Linked DNA regions of Homo sapiens: region 1 is linked to region 2. The links are contacts of gene promoters, found by promoter capture Hi-C in blood cells and fetal thymus (Javierre and others, 2016). All regions are on one chromosome and are shown on one strand. The core of a region is centred on a gene start or on the middle of the fragment in contact, and the rest is flanking DNA. Distances in the headings are between cores, read along the strand shown. Region 1 has its middle 350 kb from the start of MIR4689. Region 2 holds the start of RPL22 (ribosomal protein L22).

Region 1 (5,128 bases), core at 1,124-3,623, 690 kb before region 2:
TTTGGAAGCTCTTCCTCTTTTTCGCTAATGGGAGTATCACTCACTAGATAATACCCAGCCTCGCTTGGCCAGCTCAGCAACTTTCCACGAAGAAGGCTCACGCGCTCCACCTAAGCCCGTGCCGCACCAGCCCAGAGTGCGGGGCAGGCATGGCGTCTGTCAGGCAGAACTTGCTGCCCACACCCCACTGCAGGCTCCATGTGGGGTCTGGGTGGCCCCGGTCTCTCACCAGCTCTGGTGGGAGAGTGTTCCGAGCCTGACATTGGGCAGCCCATCCACTCTCTCCACCGTGGGCTTCCCGGGGTTCCATGCCATCATGGTAACTGGTGTTGTCAAGTATCTGTCCCTGCCAGAATCCATGTTAAAATGTAATCCCCAATGTTGGAGGTGGGGCCTGGTGGGAGGTGTTTGGTCATGGAGGTGGATCCCTCCTGAATGGTTTGGTGCCGTCCTCATGGTAGTGAGATCTCCCGAGATCTGGTTGTTTGTCAGTGTGCGGTAGCCAGGTGCGGTGGCTCACTCCTGTAATCCCAGCACTTGGGAGGCCAAGACAGGTGGATTACTTGAGCGCAGGAATTTGAGAACAGCCTGGGCAACATGGCAAAACCCTGTCTCCACCAAAAAAAAATACAAAAATACAAAAATTAGCCAAGCATGGTGGTGCATGCCTGTAGTCCCAGCTACTGGGGAGGCTGAGGTGGAAGGATCACTCACTTGAGCCCAGGAGGTGGAGGCTGCAGTGAGCCACGGTCATGCCACTACACTCCAGCCCAGGTGACAGAGCAGCACTCTGTATCAAAAAAAAATAAGTGTCTGGCACCTCCTCAACTGGCTCTTGTTCTCACTATGTGAGACTCCTGCTCCCCCTTCACCTTCTGCCATGAGTAAAAGCTTCCCAATGCCTCCCCAGAAGCCAAACGGATGCCGGCATCATGCTTCCTGTGAAGCCTGCAGAACTGCGAGCCAATTTAAACTTCCCTTCTTGGTAAATTCCCCAGCCCCAGGCATTTCTTTATAACAATGCAAGAATGGCCTAACCCAGGAACAAAGGGGACCCTGAGGCCGCTGGACAGAACCTGGCCAAGGTGGTGGACAAAGTCAGGGTCAACCTGGGACCACACAGTGGATCTTAGGCTCACTTGCCTCAGGCTTTGATGTCCTGCCTGAATCCTACCTGGGGAACGTGGCCTTGACCTTTGCCTTTTGTGTATTCTGAGACGGGGGCTGGGCAAGGTGCAGTTGGAGGACACAGCAGGACACTCCTTGGATGCCCCCACCTCCCCACCCCTGAGCCCTGCTCTCTGTCCGTTTAGGGTCCTGGCATGGCCATGCACACAGGTGCACCCCTGCCCAAACCACGCCCAAGGTGCCTCAGCACCAACCCAAGACCCTGCCCCAAGAGGGCTGACTCTGCCTGTGACCCAAGGGTATCTGTTTCTCTCCTGGGGCTTCAGTTTCCCCCAGATGAAAGGGGTGAGCTACTTAGTGATTCCCAACCTTGGCTGCACATTGGAATTTCCTGACAAGCTTTTAAAATTCCTGGTGCCTGACCACGCCACTGACGGCGGCATTGCCTCCCCAGGTGGGGACCCAGACCTCTGCATGTTCATGTCTCCCCAGGTGACTCCAACCCCAGCCAGAGGTGAGATCCAGCAACCTGTATCAGCGGTTCTCAGCGTGGGATCCTGGGACAGCAACAGCAGCCAGGTTGACAGGCCAACTCTGCAGCCTCCGCCCCACACCTGCTGAGTCAGAAACTCTGGCTGTGGGTGCAGCAGTCTGGGATTTTACCGGCCCTGCGAGGGATTCAGCCTCCAGCATCCCGGTGCGCTTTCAGCTGTGACCCACCTGAGTGCCGTGCAGACAGTGCTGGGAAGATCCTGGCTCCAGGGCCCACTAAGCTTCACTTGACCCTTAGAGGCCCTGCTCTTCATCTGTGAAGCCCCTAAAGATGCTCTTTCCCAGGCACCTTGTAAGGAAATAAACAAGGTCAAGTCCACCAAGTGCTAAGCATCCCAGGCCTTAGCAGAATCTTTCTCCATGGGTTGACCTCGGTGTTGACAATGTCATCAGGCACCGAACAGGCAGTCACAATTCAGAACCCTGCCCTCTTTTGCTTCTGGAGAAAGATGGAAGGAAAGGAAAGGGTTTTATCAAAGGGAAACAGAGACCAAGGATGAGTGTGTGGTGTCCGACAGGCAGGAGGATGAGGCCAGGAGGGGTGTCTTGGAGACTCCAGCGCATCTGGGCTGCCCCGAAGAGGGTACCTGGAGCGGAGCGACCAGGGGGATTGAGGACAGGGAGAGACAACTTGGGGACGGCAGAAGCTCCTGGAGGTGGGCACCCTGGATGGAGGAGGGAGGAGGGAGGAGGGAGGAGGGTCCACCTGCCTGCCGGCCTGGGGCTCCCTGGGCACGGGACTCTCCTGCACCAGCTCACTGGTAGCACAGACACGCATGGGAAGGGACCCATCCCCAATTCACTGTGATGAGTGCCCCTAAAACGACCCAGCCCGTGCGGTTCTGCGGGGTCACAGGTACAGCCTCCTGGGGTCCCCGAGGACAGGGGAGCCTGCAGTGTGCAGAACTGGCCACCAGGTGGCAGCAACACCGTCTCCCCAGGGGTTACTTTGTTACAACTTCGGGAGGATGGAAGGGAGCAGGTGGTTGCAAGGAAGCAGCCCCAGAGAGCTGGAAGGAGGGTACTCTGCCCTGTGAACCACATCAGGGGACGTCCAGTGAATCCCAGCAGACCCAGAAGCCAGACCCCCAAGTATGCCTGTCCAATCTCTGCCCTACAGCCCAGCATTTTCCCCCAACCCGTTTCTCTCCCCAACCAGGTTTAAGGAAGCTTTGCAAATTCCTCAGGACCTGCAAGTTTCTGAGAACGAAATTTTGTGTTTTTATTCAACGAGTCTAAAATACATCCTGCCAGCTCTAGAGGCAAAAACTTTCGCAGAGGTCATTTACCAGGGAAAACGATCTTCCTCAATAAAGGCCTTTGCTTAATCATTACTCCATAAACTGAACTCTGAGGGCTTCAGAGATATTCTCTAGGGTTCAAGAGGAATGGTTTCCTCCAGAGAGATCCATGCATGTACCCAGGTTTGATAAACATCGGGAAAAAGGCAATCGTCATCATAGCTACCTTTTACTCAGTGCTCACCACGTGGCAGGCTCTCTTCTCCATGGAACCCTCAGAAAGAGCCCGGGAGGTGGGTGCCGGTATCACCTCCACTCTGCAGATGAGCAGACTGAGGAAGGAGAAGCCAGCAATGGCAGGGTGGGGATTTGGGCAGGGCGGCCTGACCCATAGCTCCTTCTTAACCTTGGGACCATACTTCTTCCCTCTGGCATCCTGGGACTCCTGTTCTCACCTTTCTCATCCCCTCCTTCCTCCTCACAAGTGGAACTGGGGTGAGGAGCTCCCTCACTGCACAGATTTCCTTATGGAGAGGCAAGACCTGACTCCAGCCTTGTGCTTACGACTGACCATGGCTTAAAGGGCTCTCCCTGCTGGGGACGCATTTCCTTTCCCTGCTTGGCAGTAGCCATGCAGGGCTGATTAGAGCCTCTGCCAAGGGACCACAGCTAACATGGACATTTGATCTCGCTTCCTCCGGAACATAGAGCAAGCCCACAGCAAGGGTCAGTCATCCTGGCTCCCGAGGAAATGTGCACAGAACAGCTCCTTGGCCAGTGTGCTGCCCAGGACTCCAGAGCACCTGGGAGGTGTCCCCGGCCCAGAGGGGATGGGAAAAGGTGGAGAGAGTGGTGGGACGGAGGGGTCCAGGAGCCTGCAAGCTGAGCACCCTAAAGCCTGGCATATCTGCCCGATGTCGAGGGCCCTGATTTTCATACGGGACTGGCTCCTCCGTGACTCAGGCAGCCTATGAGTCCCCATAAATGTGCCCTGTGTGGAATCCAGGACATAATTGTGCGTCTTAGGCAAACAGGGAGAGCTGAGAGACAGGAAACACGGAGCTGATGGGCCACAGAAGGGAAATGAACAGAGAGAATCAACCCAGCTTGAAACAAAAACACATTCCCAAGAGTGGATCTGCAGACTGGTGTCGCAGTGCAAGGCTGGGTGTTGCCCTTGTGTGCCCACACATCACCCTCCTTCAGGAGTGGCAAAAGCACATGAGGCAGAGGCTGTGTGTGTGCGCATGTGTGTGTGAGAGAGAGAGAGAGGGAAAGAGAGAAATGGAGGGAGGGAGAGAGAGAAAGGAAGATCATCTCTTCAAGCCAGGCTCTTAGAAAAAGAGCATCAAAAATATTTTGTGAGGAATTTCCTGAGTTCCACATCTTTAACTCTTGGAATAGAGGCAGAAGGAGATTGTAATTAAAATTGGTAGTGGGGCGGGGGAAGCATCATTATATACAGAATTTCTAAATGCCTGGAAGTGATCTTACGAAGACAAATTGGTTTTCCAACCCCACCCCAGCTATAAAAAGTTATAATTGAGTCATCAGCACCCTGCTGAACTAGGAGTCTGGATTGTTTTTAGGTAGATGAATGAACTTGAGAAAATTCTTCTCTCCAGGCCGCGATTTCCCTTAGTTTTCAAACTGCATCCTAAAGAGTGCGGGGCTTCAGCTGAGAAGCCTCATGGATGGTGGTCTGTCCCCACTCCCCCACTCCTGCCATTCAGGCAGGAGGCTCCCCACACCTTCTCTGTAACCCCCAGCTTCAAGCCAAGCTGCTCTTCTTAAAAAAAAATGTCGTATATCTCCTGAAGGAGGTTTCTTTTGAAAACACTGGAACTTAATAACTTCTGAAGTCCCTTCCAGTTCTGATGCCAGGCAGAACTGTCTGAAATCAGGTGGGGGCCATGAAAACTGCCCTGCACAGCAAAGCAGGCCCAGAAGCTTCCACCATTCAGCTGAGCCCCATAGTGAGTCCATCCTCCTGTGGTCACTCATCCTGCCTCCTCTCTGCAGGTGCCAGCTGGGCCACATGCTGGACTCAAGACTTCTGCCTTTGTTCAGAGCACTTGTCATCTCCAGAGGGCCCTCCATTCTCTCTTCCACCATCCTAGTGCCCAACTATGCACCCTATAAAGACAGGACTATGCTTTTCAGCATGGCATGAACTTGGCATGCAGTAGATGCTCAATAAATATTTG
Region 2 (5,418 bases), core at 137-2,636:
ACATGTTCAGAGTAGGGTCCTGATCCGTCTTAGCTCATCTCCCTTAATCCTGTCTCATCCACCTTCTCATGAAGGGAGTTGCAAAGTATTCTAGGTGCCTGTCCACTCCAGCTTGGACAAGGTTAAGGCTAAAACCTAGAATCTTATTACAACACTACCGTCAAGAACTTCTGACATTTTGATTCGCTTCATCTATGCATTAGTACTTCCAAACCACCCGGCAAAGCACATCCTACAAGGTTCCAGTTTCTTCACTCTTACGAAGAAGCTTGTGTTAATCTTATCTCTCTACAAACTTGACACCATTAATGCACTTGTGCATCGTACCAACCTGTACTTTCACGTTTAAAAGCTCTGCAGAACTAAATAGACTTTTCCAAAAACACATCTTACCTCCCTTCATGTTTAAAAGAACTTCATCTAAAACTTGTGTTAACTGGATCAACTTTTCAAACATTTGGCCACTACAAAAATCACTGATTTATTTTTTACAACGTCTCTTCGCAGTAATAATCTAAGAGGGGTACTTTAAGATCTATTCCGAACACACACAATCAATCAAGAGACCTACCCACAACGGGCTTGATACTTCTCCATCAAGGTTTTAAACCAAAAGGCATTCAAAAGCCCAACCAGACAGAAAGAGCAGAAGAACCGGAAATGTTAACCAGGGAGTCCCAACAAAAGAGGAAAAGTAGGATCTTGGGACGAAGAACACGGAAAAACAACTTTCTCAAATAACCTAGGAGGAGGGCGCCGCACAGCCCAGTCCCAGCATAGCTAAAGGAGAATGCAATGAGAGCCTTCTCCCTACACCACTGCAACACCCGTTTGGGTCTGTACAGTGCGCCCTGATAAACTAATTTCCTCTGGGGACGCTAAAAAGCTCCTCAAACCCAGGCCTCCTCTCCGAAAGCACGCCGACCAAGCCGCCCTTCCGCGGATTCGTCCCCGAGTCTTGGCCGTGGACTTCCGAATGCGCGGCTCCCCAGGGTAGCAGGTCCCGTTCTTCTTCCCCGCCCTCCACCCAGGTAATCAGGCCCCCGGCCGGGGTCCGAGGACCAGTGGCCGGCCCAGACCGCAGTCTCCAGGCTCCAGCTCCCCGCTAGCCCCTAGCTGGGGCCCCGGGCCTCCGAGACCTCCCGGATCTCCCTCACGAGCCTCGGGCCGCGGCCTCCTCCGCCTACAACGTGCTGGGATCGGCAGGGGCTCTGGCCCGCTCCGGCCGACCTGCCAGCCCACCCCAGCAGGACGCTGCAGGGCGCCGTCCCCAGCGAGCCTGGGTAGATGCCGGGCTCGGCGAGGCCCACGTGCCTCCCCTGGAGCCGAGGCCTCACGCGGAGCCATACTAACCACAGGAGCCATGGCGGCAGCGGAGTTAGAAAGGGAGGTGAGCGAACTACGCAGACGCAAAGAGCCCGCAGCGCGCAAGGCACGCAGGGTCCAGGCCGCACTAATCACTTTGCCACGCCCCTCGTCCGCCACCTTTTCTCTTGGTTATGTACGATAGGGGAGCGATTGGTTTTTCCTGAATGCAAAACGCGTCCTCTCCCAGGCCTGGAGGGTTTCTGGGGAAGGAAGGAGGCCCGGCGGGCTGTCCCACTGCGAACGATCGGAGGGGGGAAGCCAGACTGGACGAGCCCAAAGATAAATAAAGGGGTTGGCTTTACTTTTTGAAAGTCTTGGGAAGAAAAAAGAAATAAGGAAATTCACTATACTGTAAATTACCAGCTAGTGGGATGGAAATCGAATCTACTAATTTGGGGAAGTGGGAAAATTCCTTGTAGCCACCGGGAAATTTCGTTCAGAGGTCCCAATGCCAGACCACTATGGCTTCCTCAAAAAGCCCCAGCTTGGAAGCTCATGCCCAGGGGCTGTCTCCCAGTGCCTGTCCTTTTTGCTGTAGCCAGGCCGCCCCCTCGCTGATCACCACTCCCTAGTTTCCCAGCCCAAGCCTTCTAGTTTCCCATCCCAAACCAGTAAGTAGTTGAGGACCACCAGGAGATCTGGAAAATGCAGATTCCAATTCCAGCGGTCTCAGTGGCCTGAAATTCTGCATTTCTCACAAGCTCTCAGACGATGCTGATGCTGCGAGTCCATGGACCGCATGTGGAGAAGCAAAGGTCCTCATCCCCAGGCCCACAGGTCCCTTGAACTGGGCTACTTTGCACCCAGTCACCCGCTGCGTCCTCACGGAATTATATTCCAGGATCCTGAATTGTAAATCACTCAGTGGCACACACACTCTCCACTCCCTTTACCTGGCTTCAGTGTACTCACCTAGCAAAAGTCCAATCACCAGAAGAGACTGTGCTGATGGGTCTAGCTTTCAACTCAGGCCTCAAGCCGGTTGACCAAGCTCCAAAGCCAGCTGCTGTTCTTGGCTCTATAATGATCAGGCTGGGCCTCTGCAAACACTTCTGCTTTCCAGCTGATCCCGGTTTGGCTCTATCAATAGGGGGCTTTGCTTCCTGCTTGCTCCTGTCCTGTCTGGTGTCATCCACTCTTGCTTCTTTATCCTGGAGGTGGCAGTTGGAACATTCTGGAAGCAGCAGTGGAATCCAGTCTGCACTTATTCCAACATTTGCAGAACCAGCCTCGTTTTCTCCTCAGAGACACCAGCCCTAGCAGAGCAGCACCCTCTCCTCAGATGTCTGAGTTTCACCTCCCTGTGCCCCTCCTCAAGCATCTACATTTTAATAATACCACCTACCAGTGGTAGCTACTTCCTGCAGTTGCTACTGTTAGTATTATACCCCGACAGTTACCTAAACACATCTTTATACCTAGTTAACAATCCTTTATATTAAATTCTCTCAGTTAAAAACTATAATGTGTTGTCTTTTGACTGGACCCTGGCTGATAACGGACCCTAAGCGAGCCCTCAGGGCTACTGACAATCCTAAATCTCTCCCCCAAGGGACTATTTCCCTTTCTTGTTGTTTTTAATAGAGACAGGGTCTTGCTCTGTCACCAAGGCTGGAGTGCAGTGGTGTGATCATAGCTTACTGCAGCCTCAAACTCCTGGGCTCAAGTGATCCTCCCACCTTGGCCTCCCAAATTGCTGGGATTACAGGCATAAGGCACTGCACCTGGCCCAAAAGACTATTTCACACCTCAGTCATAATGCCAGCCCCTTCTTCCTAAACCTCCCTCTCAGCAGTTGACTTTTATTGTTCTTTCCTTTTTCTTTCTTTTTTTTTTTTTTTTTTCTGAGACAGGCTCTCGCTCTGTTGCCCAGGCTGGAGTGCAGTGGTGCGAATACGGCTCACTGAAGCCTTGACATCCTAGGCTCCAGCAATCCTCCCACCTCAGCCTCCTGAGTAGCTAGGACCACAGGTGTGCACCACCATGCCCAGCTGCATGTTTTTTTGTTTTGTTTTGTTTTGCTGTTGTAGAGAGTTGGTGTCTCACTATGGCTATGTTGCCCAGGCTGATCTAGAACTCCTGGGCTAAAGCAATCTTCCTGCCTCAGCCTCCCAAAGTGCTAGGATTACAGGCGGGAGCCATCACACCCAGCCTCCTCCCGTCCTTATCTACACTTGATCTTTAGACAAGACCCACATGCTCTTCCCTTTAAATATGACTCCCCAGGCCAATGTGTGCAGCCTCTACCCCTCCCTGGACTCCCCACAGGTACAGCCAGTGGCATCCTTGGCATCTCTAGACTAGTGTCCCGTAGATCACCCTGACCCTCATGAGCCCATTCTCACCTCTTCACCCTCACCCCCACCTCCCCACACTCAAACCCTCATCCCTCACCCCACACCCCCTGCCCCGCCCCCACCTCTCCAGCCTCACCCCCATCCTCCATCCTCACTCCCATGCCATGTTCAGCCCTACTCCCCACCCTGAGCTCCTTCATCTCCAGCCACATTGATCTGCTAGTCTCTAAATGTCTTCCCATTTCTGGGGCTTTGCACTTGCTCTTGCCTCTGCTTGGAACTTTTCCCAGCTTTTCTATTTTTGTTTTTCTTTCGAGACAGGGTCTTACTCTATCACCCAGGTGGGACTGCAGAGGTGCAGTCACAGCTCACTGCAGCCTCAACCTCCTGGCTCAAGCAATCCTTCCACCTCAGCCTCTCAAGTAGCTGGGACTACAAGCACGAGCCACCATGCCCAGCTAAGTTTTAGTATTTTTTATAGAGGGGGGAGTCTTGCTATGTTGCCCAAGCTGGTCTTGAACTCCTGGGCTCAAGAGATTCACCCACGCTGGCCTCCCAAAGTGCTGGGATTACGGGTGTGGGCCACTGCGCCCAGCCTTCCTGGCTTTTCTTAATTTCTTATCCTCTGGGGGTCTCAAGCTCAGTTCCCCCTCTCTGCTCATGGTTACCTAGTGTGGTCCTCAGCTCGAGCCCCTCCCAACTGCCCTCCATCTCATCATCCTTATTTATTTATTTAATTTTTTAGGCGGAATCTCACTCTGTCACCCAAGCCGGAGTGCAGTGGCGCCATCTCGATTCTCCTGCCTCAGCCTCGCAAGAGTAGCTGGGATTACAGGCATGCACCACTACACCCAGCTAATTTTTCCTTTTTTTCCTTTTTTTTTTTTTTTTTTTTTTTTTTTGAGACAGAGGTCTCACTCTGTCACTCAGGCTGGAGTGCAATGGCGCAATCTCGGCTCACTGCAACCTCCACCTGCCAGGTTCAAGCAATTTTCCTGCCTCAGCCTCCGAAGTAGCTGGGACTCCAGGTGCGTGCCACCATGCCTGGCTAATTTTTTGTACTTTTAGTAGAGACAGGGTTTCACCATGCTGGCCAGGCTGGTCTCGAACTCCTGACCTCGTGATCCACCCGCCTCGGCCTCCCAAAGTGCTGGGATAACAGGCATGATCCATCGTGCCCAGCTAATTTTTGTATTTTTAGTAGAGACGGGTTTTCACTATGTTGGCCAGGTTGGTCTCGAACTCCTGACTTCAGGTGATCCGCCCACCTCAGCCTCCCAAAGTGCTGAGATTACAGGTGTGAGCCACGGCACCCGGCCTATCATCCTTATGATTTTCTTCCAAGCAGTTAATGCAGCCTGTCATTATTTGTTAATCTGTGTACTTGACTAACCTTGGCTGGTGTGTTCCCTTCTATGTGCCCATGGTAGATGCTCTGTAAATACTAGTTGAACAGATGCAGACATGAATGAATGGATGAATGAAGCACTCACCTCCTACCGGGAAACTAATGCATCATTCCTTAACAAAGCACCTACGCGGTTTTGTATACCAGCTCCACCACTTTCTGGGGTAATATTTTCTACTTTTTAAGAGTGTTCTCCAGATTAAATGAGTTAATATAAGTTAAACAGCTTAGAATAAAATATTGGCCCATATCTCCCCACCCTCCCTCCCCTTGTACAAAAAAAAAAAAAAAAGGCCCGGTGTGGTGGCTCACGCCTGTAATCCCAGCACTTTGGGAGGCAGAGGC

The links. The method cuts DNA at HindIII sites, captures the fragments that hold promoters and counts their contacts. A CHiCAGO score of 5 or more calls a contact.
Region 1: a fragment that was not itself captured here is called in contact with the fragment with the promoter of RPL22 in region 2 in 4 of 17 cell types (naive B cells, total B cells, naive CD8 T cells and 1 more); the score reaches 11.9 in naive B cells.

Annotation. Positions count from the first base shown.
Region 1 is chr1:5,507,465-5,512,592 of GRCh38, forward strand. No RefSeq gene overlaps it. Among named protein-coding and RNA genes, the nearest start is that of MIR4689, 350 kb to the right of the region's middle. The HindIII fragment of the contact is 949 bases long and covers 1,900-2,848 here.
Region 2 is chr1:6,198,209-6,203,626 of GRCh38, forward strand. RPL22 (ribosomal protein L22) reads right to left here and starts at 1,387. Exons shown (of 4, transcript NM_000983.4): 1 at 1,354-1,387. The coding sequence starts at 1,365. RefSeq lists a silencer at 1,139-1,278. The HindIII fragment of the contact is 15,793 bases long and covers 267-5,418 here.